Regions from separate parts of the Homo sapiens genome. Here all the other regions are linked to region 4. The links are contacts of gene promoters, found by promoter capture Hi-C in human tissues and cell types (Jung and others, 2019). All regions are on one chromosome and are shown on one strand. The core of a region is centred on a gene start or on the middle of the fragment in contact, and the rest is flanking DNA. Distances in the headings are between cores, read along the strand shown.

What was found. The method cuts DNA at HindIII sites, captures the fragments that hold promoters and counts their contacts. A contact is called where the count stands out against the background at its distance.
Region 1: a contact is called between a fragment that was not itself captured here and the fragment with the promoter of PRR22 in region 4, in 1 of the 25 tissues and cell types used here (dorsolateral prefrontal cortex).
Region 2: a contact is called between a fragment that was not itself captured here and the fragment with the promoter of PRR22 in region 4, in 3 of the 25 tissues and cell types used here (dorsolateral prefrontal cortex, mesendoderm cells and stomach).
Region 3: the fragment with the promoter of CAPS here is called in contact with the fragment with the promoter of PRR22 in region 4 in 8 of the 25 tissues and cell types used here (H1 embryonic stem cells, adrenal gland, bladder and 5 more).

What each region holds. Positions count from the first base shown.
Region 1 is chr19:5,958,351-5,961,752 of GRCh38, reverse strand. The region is part of intron 1 of RANBP3 (RAN binding protein 3); the gene reads left to right. Among named protein-coding and RNA genes, the nearest start is that of RANBP3, 18 kb to the left of the region's middle. RefSeq lists enhancers at 358-1,007, 1,656-2,304, 2,954-3,402. The HindIII fragment of the contact is 5,100 bases long and covers 1-3,402 here.
Region 2 is chr19:5,937,579-5,941,209 of GRCh38, reverse strand. The region is part of intron 5 of RANBP3 (RAN binding protein 3); the gene reads left to right. Among named protein-coding and RNA genes, the nearest start is that of CAPS, 25 kb to the right of the region's middle. RefSeq lists a silencer at 1,256-1,436. The HindIII fragment of the contact is 7,736 bases long and covers 1-3,631 here.
Region 3 is chr19:5,912,285-5,915,933 of GRCh38, reverse strand. CAPS (calcyphosine) reads right to left here and starts at 1,680. Exons shown (of 5, transcript NM_004058.5): 1 at 1,625-1,680; 2 at 1,445-1,549; 3 at 1,194-1,371; 4 at 788-994; 5 at 1-713. The coding sequence starts at 1,527. The coding sequence ends at 612. The HindIII fragment of the contact is 10,666 bases long and covers 1-3,649 here.
Region 4 is chr19:5,782,872-5,786,575 of GRCh38, reverse strand. PRR22 (proline rich 22) reads left to right here and starts at 1,830. Exons shown (of 3, transcript NM_001134316.2): 1 at 1,830-2,045; 2 at 2,137-2,199; 3 at 2,523-3,616. The coding sequence starts at 1,916. The coding sequence ends at 3,598. DUS3L (dihydrouridine synthase 3 like) reads left to right here. Exons shown (of 13, transcript NM_020175.3): 10 at 34-109; 11 at 785-973; 12 at 1,065-1,193; 13 at 1,301-1,436. The coding sequence ends at 1,373. The HindIII fragment of the contact is 36,623 bases long and covers 1-3,704 here.

The DNA.
Region 1 (3,402 bases), core at 835-3,334, 170 kb before region 4:
TTTTGTTTTGTTTTGTTTTGAGACAGAGTTTCACTCTTGTTGCCCAGGCTGGAGTGCAATGGCACCATCTCAGCTCACTGCAACCTCTGCGTCCCAGGTTCAAGTGATTCTCCTGCCTCAGCCTCTTGAGTAGCTGGGCTTACAGGTTGCGCCACCACGCCTGGCTCAGTTTTTGTATTTTTAGTAGAGAAGGGGTTTCTCCATGTTGATCAGGCTGGTCTCGAACTCCCGACCTCAGGTGATCCTCCCGCCTCGGCCTCCCAAAATGCTGGGATTACAGGCATGAGCCACTGTGCCCGGCCGACACTGCAGTTTTTGTTTTGTTTTGTTTTGTTTTGTTTTGAGATGGAATCTCGCTCTGTCACCCAGGCTGGAGTGCAGTGGCGCAACCTTGGCTCACTGCAAGCTCAGCCTCCCGAGTTGCTGGGACTAAAGGCACCTGCCACCACGCCCGGCTAATTTTTTGTATTTTTAGTAGAGACAGGGTTTCACCGTGTTAGCCAGGATGGTCTCAATCTCCTGACCTCGTGATCCCCCCACCTCGGCCTCCCAAAGTGCTGGGATTACAGGTGTGAGCCACCGCGCCCGGCCAACACTGCAGTTTTAAGTGTGTGTTTCATGATAGTGCTTCTGGCTGCTCTGTGGAGGCCAGATCTAAGGGAGTGAGAGTAGAGGCAGAGAAGGAAAGGAGGGCTGAATGGTGGCAGGGGTGGGTACAGGAACAAGAGATGGGAGGCAATTGTGGAGGATCTGATTGGACTCCACCCTGGCTTTCTGTTCTCTGGGTGGCTCCTTTCAGAGCTTGACCCTCACGTCCCCTTCCATAGCCTCCCTCTGTCTCCAGCTGGGTCACATGTCCAGGCACAGGACAGGGTTGCTCCATCAGAGGGGCCCTCTCCTGGCCCATGCCCCTCAGCCCTGCCGTGTGTCCAGAAGGCTCCGGGCAGCACCTTGGCACCACAGCCTGCCCAGGCCTCCCATAGTTACTCAAATAGCTGCAGTCCCTTCCGTGCACCTGCAGATCCACCGACACGGTTCTCAACACCAGCGCGCACTCCTCTCCCATCCAAATGGTTCTCTCTCTTCTAGCCCTTCCTTACTAGCCTGGCACCAAGTGTCTTCGCCTCACATTTTCACTAATGTCCTCCTTCCCTCCCCCTTCATGAAGTGTTTGTTGAATCCATAAAGTGTGCCAAGTACTGTTCTCAGGCCATGGGGTACCCAGGGGAACAAAGCAGTCTCGGATCTTATGGAGTTTATATCTTAATGGGTGAGACAGACCATAAACCCATCAATATGGAGTGGATCAGGCAGTGACACTTGCTGTGAAGAGAAAGAAAGCATCTTAGCGTCACTTTGAGGCCTGTCCAAGGTCTCTTCCACAGATGCTGGAGTGCAGCATGTGTGTAATTCAGTCTGCAGTGGCTGGACCGCGCCTCTCTCAGGCCAGAGTCTGTTAGCGACAAGGGGCAGAAATCGAGCTCAAACTGGCTTAAGCAAAAATCAGCACTGATTGGCTTCACTGAAAAGTCTGGGGGCAGAGTTAGCTTTGGGCCAAGCTTGACTCAGGGCCGAACACAGGCCAGATTTAGTCTTCCCCCTCCCTCTGTGACTCTGCTACCTCTGGTTGGCTCTGGTCCAAGGCCCCTCTCGGTGACATGGGATTGCTGGCAGCCTCAGGGTCATTCACCAGCAGCTCAGCAGCCCCAGGATCTCCAGCGAAAGGCCTGGCCTTGTTCATGTGCCATGTGTTAGACGATGCATGCGGGACTCTTCTTGTCAGGCCTGGAGCTGGGGCTGAGCTTGGCTCCATCTGAACTGGGGGACAGGGGGACGAGGGGTGGGTAGCTCCCTAAAGAAAATGGGGTTGGAGAGTGCCAAGCTGGCTCAAACCCTGGCTCCTTCCTGTGCATCTTGTCACCTGGCAGCTGGCAGGGAGGCAAATGCAGAGGTCAGGGCTGGGCTTGTGGGGTACAGGCGTGGCACCGGAAGACCTCTAGGATCCTGGTGGCACACATGGTGTGGATACGCTGCTGCTCTGTCCCAGAGTCCCCCAGCATTCCTTTGACATCATTTATTGCCTGGCATAGGTGCATTCATTCACGTTTGTCAAGCAGCACCTGTGTGCTGTGTTGGCAAGAAGTCTGCTTAGGGAAACCTGGAAGTCTGGTTGGAGACCCCTCTGACCTCCCCTGCTCCCTTGTAGCCCCTGGGTCTCGCGCACGCCACTCACTCCAGTGTTTGCCTTGGCTGTACACGGTGAATCAGACCCTGGTGTGCCGAGGCTTCGGGGAGCATGGTGGGGGGAATGTCACCATCAGTGGGCTGCCTGGCTGTGGACTGATGCCCCAAGGTCAAGACCAGAGTCTGTCCTGCGTCTGCAGGAGTGGGATGGTGTCTGTTTGGTCATCTTGGTGCTGTCCCTTTCTCTCCACCTCAGTCACTACCCACCTGGTCTCCCCACAGCCACTCTCACTCCCTTCCCCAAACTGTTTGCTTTCAACCTAAACCAACCCCAGGCATCCCCTTGCCTTTTATGACATTTCCCCAGCAAGTCAGCATGCCCACCGCCTGCCCCTGGCCCCATCACCCCGCAAGCTGTGACTTCAAGCTGCTGCTGCTCTCCCTTCCAGCTCTTCTTGAGACCCCAGCACAGCCCCCTCTTCTCAGGGACCTCCCCTGGACTCCAGAGCAGACCAGGTCAATGCCCAAGCAGAGTGCCTTCGTCGTGATCATGGGCAGCACATGCTTCCTGGGTAATGCCTGGCTCCCCACGACCGGGGTCGGGGGGCCTGCGAAGGCAGGGCTCTTCCCAAACCCTGCTCAACGCGGAGGCACCAGTGCGCAGCCCGCAGCCCACAGCAGGCATTCACCAGAGTCACAGCTGCTCTTGCTTGGCCTCCACGCTAGGCCCTCAGTGCCCTGAATGGTGAAAGAGGCCCTGGGAGCACCCCCAGAGTTCATCAAAGTGCATGCAGGCCCAAGGCCATGAGGCAGGTGTGGTCTGCGCCTCCTCGTGGGGTCGAGGCAGTCCTCATCTGTGCTTCCTGTGCGGGCAGCAGGGCCTCCTGGGCTGCCACCCACTCCGGGGCTGAGTGGCACAGGGCTGTGGATCTGGCTGCCCCTGGGTAGGAGACAGATGGTGTTGCGTGGGCATTACAGGCCGCCTTGCTCTTGTCCCATCAAGTGACAGAACACCCCAGAGTGTTTCTTCCTTCAGCCGCTGTGCAAGATGGACTCTCAGGCCTCTAGCAACTCCAGACATCCTTTCCTCCCAACCAGCACTCACTTAGAGATCCAGGTTGAGCGTTAGGATTCTTCTACCAGAACTGTCTGCAAACAGCGCGAGCGGTGGCCCTTTTTTTTGCCCTCTGGCCTGTAAACTTTAAAAAGCTAAATTAG
Region 2 (3,631 bases), core at 102-2,601, 160 kb before region 4:
GCAGTAGCCCAGACACACACACGCATGTACACACAAGCATGCACACACACACGGTAACCAGCAAGCCAGGAGGCCCCAGCAGAGGCCCGTGTGTGATGCTGTGAACTCCCAGAGGAGAGGAGCTTGCGGGGGCCTGGAAGGGTGGGCCAGGCTCGGACTGTGGAGCAGGGCAGGCTAAAGGGCTTGAAGGCCCTGGACGTGAGGCCTGGTCTGAGCACAGGCCTGGAGGTCGGCCTGGGGACTCATGCAGGCTGGTACAGGAGAGAGGTTCCTGAGGCAGATAATGCCGTCAGCACTACTTAATATAACACTCAGAAAGCCCGGCCTCCTGCCATGGGCACAACTCTGCAGATTTGAGGGTAAATGCCACTGCAGGGCTATTCTCTCGTCCCCGTCTTGACTTCCCACTCTGGCATTGTCTCGTGGCCTCTGTCTTAGCTGTCTGTAGTGCCAACTTGGACATACATGAGTGTTTAGACAGGTTCTCTGGTTACCCAACTGAAATCCATTCCTGGAAAGTTCATGTAAATCATTTTACAGTCCTGAACCTTCAGGATGTCAAGTTGTTTCTGCTTACAGAAGTCACGCATGCGTTACAGGAACACACAGCGTAGGAAGCCAGGGTCCTTCCCAAGTCACCCCTCCACACCCTTGTTTTCATGCCCTTTTCCCATCACGTTGGTTTTGGACATGGCCGCGTCTTTTTGCACAGCTGCATTAGGTTTTCCAGTGCTATTACACTGTCATCTGCTGACTGGATATTGCGGAACTGTCCAGATGGCTTGCAGTCCAGGCTGCAGTTGGCATCCTTTTAATTTAAGGATCTTTGCACCTGTGGATAGGTGTTCTGTGGAATGAGGGAGCTCCACTTCCTGCTCGTTGATTTTATTCCTTCCCCCTCACTGCCCACTGCTGAACCATGCTTGCTGTATCGAAAACCAGCATAGAGAAGAGGAGGTGTTTGGGCTGTGAATGTAGGCTAAAGAGGCGAGGGACCACCATTCTTCTCCCCGGCCCTCTTCAAATCACCTCCCGTCCAGCGCAGCAGCCCCCAAGAGACACTCAGCTCTCCAGGGTAACTGGAGGCGTGAGGGGCACCAATAATTTGAACAGTGTTGTCTTTGGTTCCATTCTGCGTAGAGTGAGTTCTTCCCCTACGAATTCCACTTCATTTGTGGAAACCTGTTGGCTGGCCCACACCCTGGGAAGCAGTTGCCCTGGTGAAGGAAGATCTTAGGTGGGGGAGGGGGAACCCCATGGACAAGCCTTGACAGGTGAGGAGGAGTCAGGGCCTCCAATGTGGCCTGGAGCATCTGATATCTCCCCTGCCGGCTGCCCCTGCAGAGGTGCAGGGACAAGGGGGTGCCCCCAGTTGACCAGAGTTGACTGTAGTCATCAGACAGATCAAGGCCGTCGGGCTGGAGACCCTCGTAGTGCTGTAAAGAGTCTTGGGGTTTGCTGTTCTCGGGAAAGACTGAATGCCCTGTTTGCGTGCTGTTCCGTCTCCTCCCGTGGGACGTGAGAATCCACCCCTCAGGTGGGAGAGGTGATCTCTGAGCGTCCACCCCACCCATTCATGCTGTTTTTCCTCTTGTTCCCTCCCCCGCCTGCACCTCCTTGTCAACAGTTTCAAAAAACAATGTTTTTATGCCATCAAGCTTCTGCGAGCCATCTGCAGGCAATTCCGACTCAGAGCCAAGTGAGCCCCGGCCCCTCTGCCTTCCCGCCCGGCCTGGGGGTTCTCCTGGGAGGAAAAGCAATTGGTGTGGGAAAATCAGATCTTCAGCGGGCATTTAAAGTCAGTTCTTCTTCAGCTGTTAAAATTTTTCCCCCAACTCTTCAGCTCATAGTCTGGGGATCTGGCGTGAGATGAGGCTTCATAAGCCCTCATGTTTGTTTCTGCAAGCAGGGCCTGGTTGCATGGAGCTCTAAGTCCTCTAAAAACAACCTGTGAAGAAATGTATCACTCATTTTTCAAAATTTTATACAAGTAATGCATTCATAATTGGGGTTTTTTGGTTTTTTAGACAGACTTTCACTCTTTTTGCCCAGGCTGGAGTGCAGTGGTGTGATCTCAACTCACTGCAACCTCCGCCTCCCGGGTTCAAGTGATTCTGCTGCCTCAGCTTCCCGAGTAGCTGGGATTACAGGCGCACACCACAATGCCGGGGTAATTTTGTATTTTTTTAGTAGAGACAGGGTTTCACCTGTTGGCCAGGCTGGTCTCCAACTCCTGACCTCAGGTGATGCACCTGTCTCGGCCTCCCAAAGTACTGGAATTACAGGCATGAGCCACCGCACCTGGCCCATAATTGTTTTTTCTTTAAAGTAAATCAGAAATATTTCAACTAAAAAGAATCCCTGCCCCTTCCCCACTCACCCTGCCATCCCAAAGGTAACGCCTGTGAAGTTGGTGAATTTCTAGACCTCTTTTTTGTGCATTCTCACATTAATTTTGCTCAGACCTACCTAGATAAATATGTTTAATCACAGCTTCAAAACTTTTTGTGTGTTTTGGAGACGGAGTTTCACTCTTGTCCCCCAGGCTGGAGTGCAATGGGGCGATCTTGGCTCACTGCAACCTCTGCCTCCTGGGTTCAAGCAATTCTCCTGCCTCAGCCTCCCAAGTAGCTGGGATTACAGGCATGTGCCACCATGCCCAGCTAATGTTTTGTATTTTTAGTAGAGACGAGGGTTTCACCGTGTTGGCCAGGCTGGTCTCGAACTCCTGACCTCAAGCGAGCTTCCCGCCTCAGCCTCCCAAAGTGCTAGGATTACAGGCGTGAGCCACCACGTCTGGCCCCCAGCTTTAAAATTTTAAGGAAAGCCGCTCCCCCTTTCTGAAGAATATGGAGCCTGCCTTTTTGGTCTTTCACTGGAGAACCAACTCCAAGGTTTCCTGAAAGTTTCTCCCACGTGGCTGAAATTCCTCATAAAAGATTTAACAAGCGAGTTTAACAACCTGAATTCTGTAACCCAACCTACCATATATAAATTCATTGCCGACTTCAAAAGCATTGTGAGATAAGTTAGCTGCTGGCGTGATGTCCGTGTCAAGGGAAGAGGTGGGTTCTTATAACTCTCAGCATTGAGTTGATGGCCCCGTTTCAACAAGGCATTTTGACTCTAAAAGCAAACTGTTTTGAGCCGACCACCTGGTCTCATCCTGCAGAGGGGCTTGGTGTTTCAGGGTCCTCAGGAAGGGCACGATGTTGGTTATTCCTGGGGTGTCGCTTAGCAGGTGGTGGTCTGGATGGGGGCACAGAGCCTGCCACGGTGAGGCAGGTTCTGCTTTAGGTGATCAGTTACTAAAGCCGTGTGTCTGGACCCATTTGTGCTGCTGAGCTCTGTTACAAATCTCATGATCGCTTCTGAGGTCTGTGAGCAACGGCCTCCCTCCTGTCTCTCTCCCCACAGACCTTTCCCCTCCAGCCTCGAGCAGGGCAGCTGTTTCGCAGGCCCCGACGCGGCATGGTTTAAAGCCCCAGTGCCCTCACGCATGAAAAGGCAGTCATATCAGCCACACATCAGTTCTGCAAACCCAACTTCACATCCTTGTCTGCCTGCCTTCTGTTTTTTAGCTTTAATTTTGAAAAGCTTTAACACTTACAGAAGAATTTCTCTGTCCCTT
Region 3 (3,649 bases), core at 431-2,930, 130 kb before region 4:
CCCGCCCAGAGCTCCCAGCCTCGGGCCGCTCACCAGAATGTAGATACTGGGCCCGCTGGACATGTTACCTGCTATTTTTATTCCCCATTTGCCATCTTCTGATTGGGGGTTGATGTTTTACAGATTTTTTTTTCAAAGGCTTTATTTCAGTTTCTGAGGTTAGGATGCCCCTGTGCCCCTCGCTCCACACCTGGGCAGGTCTAAACTTCCTTCCAGGATGGCCTCCACACACAGCCTCCCACCTGGGGTCACCTGGCTTCCTGGGGGACCCGCAAGGGAGGGGCAGGGAGCAGCAGTCCGGGTGCGGGGATCGGGGGACCTCGGCGGGGGCATCCACAGGGGCTGCAAGATCTCTGGTCAGCATGGCGTGGGTGGGGAGAGCGTTTCTCCCTGGGGTCCTGAGCCAGTGACTCCTGTTAGGACCTTTGTCCCACCTCCGCCTGGTGGACCGGCAGGGACCTGGTCTAGCCAGTCCTGCAGCCTCCATTCCCCCACCTGCCCCTCCCCGCTCTGTGGTGTGGCTGCCCAGGAGAGAAGGGGCCCAGGGAAGGGAGGTCTCCGGCAGGGGTGGGGAGTGACAGGCCAGGGCAGCAGGGCTGAGCCGGAGCTGCTCACAGCTGCCAGGCACTGGTCATCATGGCCACGAACTCCTCATCCGTGTTCATGGAGGCACTCACGCCGCTGTAGTAGTCCTGGAATTCCGCCAGTGTGACCTGGGAACAGAGGGCCGTGAGGGGGCACGGCCGAGGAACTGCCTGGGGAGGGGGCCCCCCGCGCAGCCACCCACCTGCCCGTCCTTCTCAGAGGAGTCGAAGTTGTCCAGGAAGCGGCGCAGCACCTCGTCCTCGGTCCACTCCCCACTGCGCACCTTGGGGTGGGCACGGCCACTGTACACCCCGCGGAGGTCGTCCACCGTCACGACGCCGTCCCCACTGCGGTCCAGCTTGGCAAATGCAGCTGCGATGACAGCCTCCCGGGCCTGGGACATGGGGGGCTGGGACAGGAGGTGGTGACTGGGGGTGGTGGGTAGCACACCCAAACCCCCAAGACGCTGTGCAGAGCACTGGGGCTGTATGCCCCAGCAGGCGCCTCTTAACAGCAGCTCTTAGGGAGGAGTCCCCGTCTCCGCATCTCAGCATCCTCTGTCGCCCCATGCCCAGGGCACACGCCTTGACTGTGAGGTGGGGGCTCACCCGCAGCGCCCGAAGGAACTCCTCCAGATCCAGCGTCCCGCTGCCATTGCGGTCCCACTTCCTGCACACACCCTCTGCCTCCGCCTGGTCCAGCACCAGCCCGAGTTTGGCCAGACCCTGCCGGAACTCATCAGCGTCCAGGGATCTGCTCCCGTCCCGGTCTAGTTGGCGGAAAAACCTGGAGGCAGGGGACACGGTTGGAACAGTGGTCTCAGGGGCCGGGGTCAGGAAGGTGAGAGGGGACAGCTCACCTGGCCAGGCCCTGGATGCCCGAGGCCCCGCGGGACAGGCACTGTGCCCGGAGTTTCTCCATGGTGGCATCCACGGCGTCCATGCTTGGTCTGGGCTCTGGGCAGCTGGAAGGGAGAGAGGTCAAGGTGGGGACTCCCGCAAGCCCACCCTGGCCGACTGCCCCTTGTTCAGATGCTCACCTGGCCTGCGTCTGTCCCAGAGTCCTGCCTGCGGGGCCTTGTGTTAGCTGTGTTGTGCCTGGGGAGACTGTTGCTAGTGGAAGGTGCCTCTGGAGATGGGGTGGGGCCCAGCTGCATGAATGCACTGTGCTGGGCAGTGGGGAGTGGGGGAGGGATGGGTGCGCCCAGCCTGACTGCTTACTCAACTGCCAGCCCCACAGGGCCTGGGACAGAGCCAGATCCCTGTGGCACTGCATCCCTTCCTGGCTCCAAGGAGGAGGGGCAGGCCACTGCCCTGCAGGGGCTGAAATGCCCTGGATGGAGACAAGTCCGTGGCTGGGGAGGCTTGACGCATGATTCCTGTGTGACCCTGGACAGGTCCCTTTCCCTCTCTGGCTTCACAGGGGCTTCTCAGCCCGAGCCAGGGCTGACAAAATTGCTGAGGAATCAAAGTTCAAAAGGGCCCCAGGTTCTGACCGGCCACTGCGGCTCATGCCTGAAATCCCAGCACTTTGGGAGGTCTAGGTGGGAGGATCACTTGAGCCCAGGAGTTTGGACCAGCCTGGGGAACATATAGAGAACTTGTTTCTATTGTACAGCAACAAAAATGCCCCAGGTGGGCTGGGCGCGGTGGCTCATGCCTGTAATCCCAGCACTTTGGGAGGCCGAGGTGGGCAGATCACAAGGTGAGGAGTTTGAGACCAGCCTGACCAACATGGTGAAACCCCGCCTCTACTAAAAATACAAAAATTAGCCGTGCATGATGGTGGGCGCCTGTAATCCGAGCTACTTAGGAAGCTGAGGCAGGAGAATCGCTTGAACCCAGGAGGTGGAGCTTGCAGTGAGCCAAGATTGCACCACTGCACTCCAGTCTGGGCGACAGAGCAAGACTCCATCTCAAAAAGAAAAAAAAAAAAAAAGCCCCAGGTGGCCCAGGTCCTGGGGCCCTAAGACCTCCCACCCAGGCCCACCTCCAAGGGCAGGTCCTGCAACCCACAGAGACTGAGCTGAGCCTGAGGGACACCTCTGCTCACTGCCACAAAGCTTGTCACTGGCCGTTGTTAGGAGCCAGTCCCAGGATTTCTGTCTTTACGGATCTTTTGTTGTTGGTTTTCAGGCCTGAAACGTGACTTAGTGGGCTGGCTCCTGACAAGGTGGTGAGCCAGAGGTTGTGACCCCGAGTGGAAGAGCAGCCCTGATCCTGGACATAAACCTCAAGAGACGAAGCCACCTCACTGAAGGCCTTCAACGGAGACATCGGATATACCTGCCCGCTAAGATAGGTGGGTTTTCCAGGACTTGAAACGTGGGCCCTGTTTGAGGACCCACTGTTCGCCCCGACCCAAGGATCATCAATCGGAGCCTTCTCCAAGCCTGGCTTTACCTCGCTCACAGCACAATTATATTGTCAGAAGTTGCCTTGCCTGAGCGCGGTGGCTCATGCCTGTAATCCCAACACTTTGGGAAGCCAGGGCAGGAAGATCACTTGAGCCCAGGAGTTTGAGACCCGCCTGTGCAACATAGTGAGACCCCCCCATCTCTACAAAAACTACAAAAAATTAGCCAGGCATGGTGGTGTGTTCCTGTAATCCCACCTACTTGGAAGGCTGAGGCAGGAGGATCACTTGAGCCCGGGAGTTGGAGGCTGCAGTGAGCTATGATCGCACCACTGCACTCCAGCCTGGGTTACAGAGCAAGACGCCCGCCTCTTAAAAATAAGTAAATAAACTGGCCGGGCACGGTGGCTCACGCCTGTAATCCCAGCACTTTGGGAGGCCGAGGCGGGCAGATCATGAGGTCAGCAGTTCGAGACCAGCCTGGCCAACATGGTGAAACCCTGTCTCTACTATAAATACAAAAATTAGTCAGCCGGGTGCGGTGGCTCATGCCTGTAATCACAGCACTTTGGGAGGCCGAGGCAGACAGATCACCTGAGGTCAGGAGTTTGAGACCAGCCTGGCCAACATGGTGAAACCCTGTCTCTACTTAAAATACGAAAAACTAGCTGGGCGTGGTGGTATGTGCCTGTAATCCCAGCTACTCGGG
Region 4 (3,704 bases), core at 581-3,080:
GTCTCCCTGAGACCCCAGCCTCTGTCTCCTCAGGAAATGGGGACATCTTGTCATTTGAGGATGCCAACCGCGCCATGCAGACTGGTGTCACCGGGATCATGATTGCCCGGTAAGTGCCCAGGGATGTTAGAGATCCAGCTTCATGCACAGCAGCAGTGCCCTGAACCCAACACGCCGTCACCCACCCCTGTTCTGTGGTGGGCTGTTGGTCCCAAGATGGGAGGAGCAGAGAGCGATGTCAGGAGTTGCAGCTGCGTTGCGGCAGAGGGGACTGGAAATTGCTGCTGCTGTGGGATCTGATGATTGTGGGTTGAAAGTCCTGGGCTTTGGCCAGGTGTGTGGCTCACGCCTGTAATCCCAGCACTTTGGGAGGCCAAGGCACGCCGATCATTTGAGGTCGGAGGTTCAAGACTAGCCTGACCAACATGGTGAAACATCTCTATTAAAAATACAAAAATTAGCCAGGTGTAGTGGTACACGCCTGTAATCCCAACTACTAGGGAGGCTGAGGCAGGACAATTGCCTGAACCTGGGAGACGGAGGTTGAACAGTGAGCCGAGATCTTACCACTGCACCCCAGCCTGGGCGACAGAGCCAGACTCCGTCTCAGAAAAAACAAAAGAAAGTCCTGTGCTTTGAAGGTTGTGTGCATGCAGCTGGGAGGCTTACTAGGCTTGTAGGTTTTGTGGTCTGGGCTCCGGCTCAGGCCAGGCCATGGAAGCAGAGGCCACACGATCCCAGGCAGGCTGGTGGCTGGGCCCACTGATCGTCACCCGTCCCACAGTGGCGCCCTGCTCAAGCCGTGGCTCTTCACGGAGATCAAGGAGCAGCGGCACTGGGACATCTCGTCGTCCGAGCGCCTGGACATCCTGCGGGACTTCACCAACTACGGCCTGGAGCACTGGGGCTCGGACACGCAGGGCGTGGAGAAGACCCGGCGCTTTCTGCTCGAGTGGCTGTCCTTCCTGTGCCGGTGGGCACCGGGGCTGGCTGGGGTGGGCGGCGCGTGGGCCGCGGCTGGTTAGAGCTGACTCAAGCCTGTCCTGCCCGCCCACCCGCCGCAGGTACGTGCCCGTGGGGCTGCTGGAGCGGCTCCCACAGAGGATCAACGAGCGGCCGCCCTACTACCTGGGCCGCGACTACCTGGAGACGCTGATGGCCAGCCAGAAGGCAGCCGACTGGATCCGCATCAGGTGCCTGGGTGGGCTGGAGTTGGGGAGCTGCAGTCGGGGGCCCGGGGTCACGGAGGGTACTTTGCAGGTCCTGGGCCTGACCTCGCTTTCCACCTGCTCTCCCACAGCGAGATGCTCCTTGGGCCAGTGCCCCCCAGCTTCGCCTTCTTGCCGAAGCACAAGGCCAACGCGTACAAGTAGCCTCAGGCTTTCCCAGGGGCACCCTGGGGCGAGGAGAGTACAATAAATTTTATTCTTTTAAAATCCAGGCCTTTCTGTGACCCTGAAGCAGCCCCTCCTCGGCCCCCACCTTCCCCAAACCTCTTAGCTGCCTCCATGGGCCCTGCCCCAAGCTGGGTGCTGCTGGTGCCCAGAGAGGCCTTGACCCCCAAGAAGGTAGCGGGTTGAGGACCCGGGGGGCCTCAGCCTGTGTGGGTGTGGATCAGGGCAGCCTGCCTGGAGGAGGCGGCCTCAAAGCTGTTAGGGGGGTGTTGCTGGAAGAGGCAAAGGCCTGGCCCAGAATCCTCCCTCCCATGGTGATGACCATGTCTGCCAACGTCTGCCCCTGCTTGCCCCCAACACCCAGAACCCCAACCAGTGGGCGCGCTGCAGGCTGGAACCCGCTGCCCCGAGTAACCAGGCAAACAGAACCCCACCAGGTTCTCAGCCTGTTCTCCGGTTGGGCCACTTGCACTCCCACTGCCGCCCTCCTGGCCTGTCTGGACCGGGCCCCCCGCTGCCCCATGCAGCACCCCAAACCGTTCTGTGCCCCTGCAGCTCCCCAGGAAGGTTTCAGCCCGCAGAGTCTGGAGGGGGCTGAGGTGCTGGGCAACCAGCCTGCTCCCACCTGTGCCGAGCCTCCTCCCGCTATGGGTACGATCGGGTGGGTGGGAGCACCTGCTGGAGAGGGTTCAGGGGCCCACCCGCCTAAGGGCCCTACCCACCTGGGCACCTTTGTCCACAGGCTCCTTGAACCTGTATCATCCCCCAGACCCAGAGAAAGAGGTGTTTCCAGCCCCACCAGCAGGTACCGGCCTCCCCTGAGCCCTTGACGAGGCTGGGAGTGGGTTTGAGTGTGCAGGCCCATCTTGCCCCTGCCCCGTCCCTAAGTGGGAGCCTGAAGGCATGGCCTCTGCTCCCCATGCTTCACACAGGTCCCCCAGATGAGCCCCAAAGACAAGCTCTGTGTCATCCATCACCCAGCCAGGGCCCCAAAGCAATATCTATGTCGTCCCCCAAAGGGGCCCCCCAATGGCAAGGTTCTTGTGGCATCTCCCAAACAGGCCCCCAGGCTTGGGCTGGGCCCCTCAGGCAGCAGCTGCTCTCAGGGCACCCGCCTGCCGCCCACAGGTTTCCAGATGGCCCCATGCGGGTGCTTCTTCGACCCCCGCATCTATCGGATCGAGTGGACCACCCCCGACCTGGGCCAGTCAGCCCTGTATAAGCTGGCAGCAAGCAGCGGGGGGCCAGCGGGGGTCCCCTCCGCCCCAGGCAGCTACCTCCTGGAGCCTCAGCCCTACCTCAAGGCCCCGGGGCTGCCTCCATACCCCCACTACCAGCAGGCACCCGGGGGGCCCCAGTTTCTCTTGCCCTACTTCCCGCCTGAGGGCCCCGGGCCAGAGGCTCTGGGTTTTGTGGGGGACGCAGGGCCCGCCGCCTTCGTGGAGCTGCCCCTACCGCCCCTAGAGGAAGGCCCGGCCCCGCTGCCACCCCCACCCCCCAAGGAGAACAAGCCGCCCCCTGTACTCATCACGCTGCCTGCAGAGCCCACACTGCCCCCAGACGCCTACAGCCACCTCCAGGGTCACCTCGGCCACTTCCCTGGGCCCGAACCCCTGGCCTTCCCCGTCAAGGAGCTGCAGGGCAGTGGGGCCCGACCTGGGGTGCCCCTGTACCCACCGGGCCTCAGCGAGCTCAAGGTGGCCGAGGTCAAGGAGGGGGCCCTGCTGGGAGCAGGCAAGGCCAAGGCCCCCAAGACGGCCAGAGCTTTGGCACTGCCTGACAAGGTTCTGCTGGAGGACGCCATGAAGCTCTTCGACTGCCTGCCAGGCGCCTCTGAGCCTGAGGGTACCCTGTGCGAGGTCCCTGGGCCGGCCCTGCCTGACAGCAGTGGTGGGAACTCAGCCGATGACATCCGCTCGCTGTGCCTGCCCGAGGAGCTGCTGTCCTTTGACTACAGCGTGCCTGAGATCCTGGACACCGTGTCCAACGTTGACTACTTCTTCAACTTCAAGGCGCTCGACGAGGAGCAGCCGCCCCACCCGGGGCCCCCTGCCACCAACACCCCGGCCCCCATTCTGTCTGGCAAGAGAAAGGCCTCGACGGCCAAGAAGGGAAAGCCGGGAAGGAAGGCCAGGCAGCCGGCAGGCCCAGCCAGCGCCACTCCCCCGGGGCCCAGGGAGGACCTGGGAGCCACCCCGCATTAAAGCACATTTGACCTTTCAGCTCCATGTCCACGTGGGGGCCTTGGGGATGGGGAGGGGGCTGGAGATGCACGCCTGGCCCCTCACCCCATCATCCCGCGGACTGGCA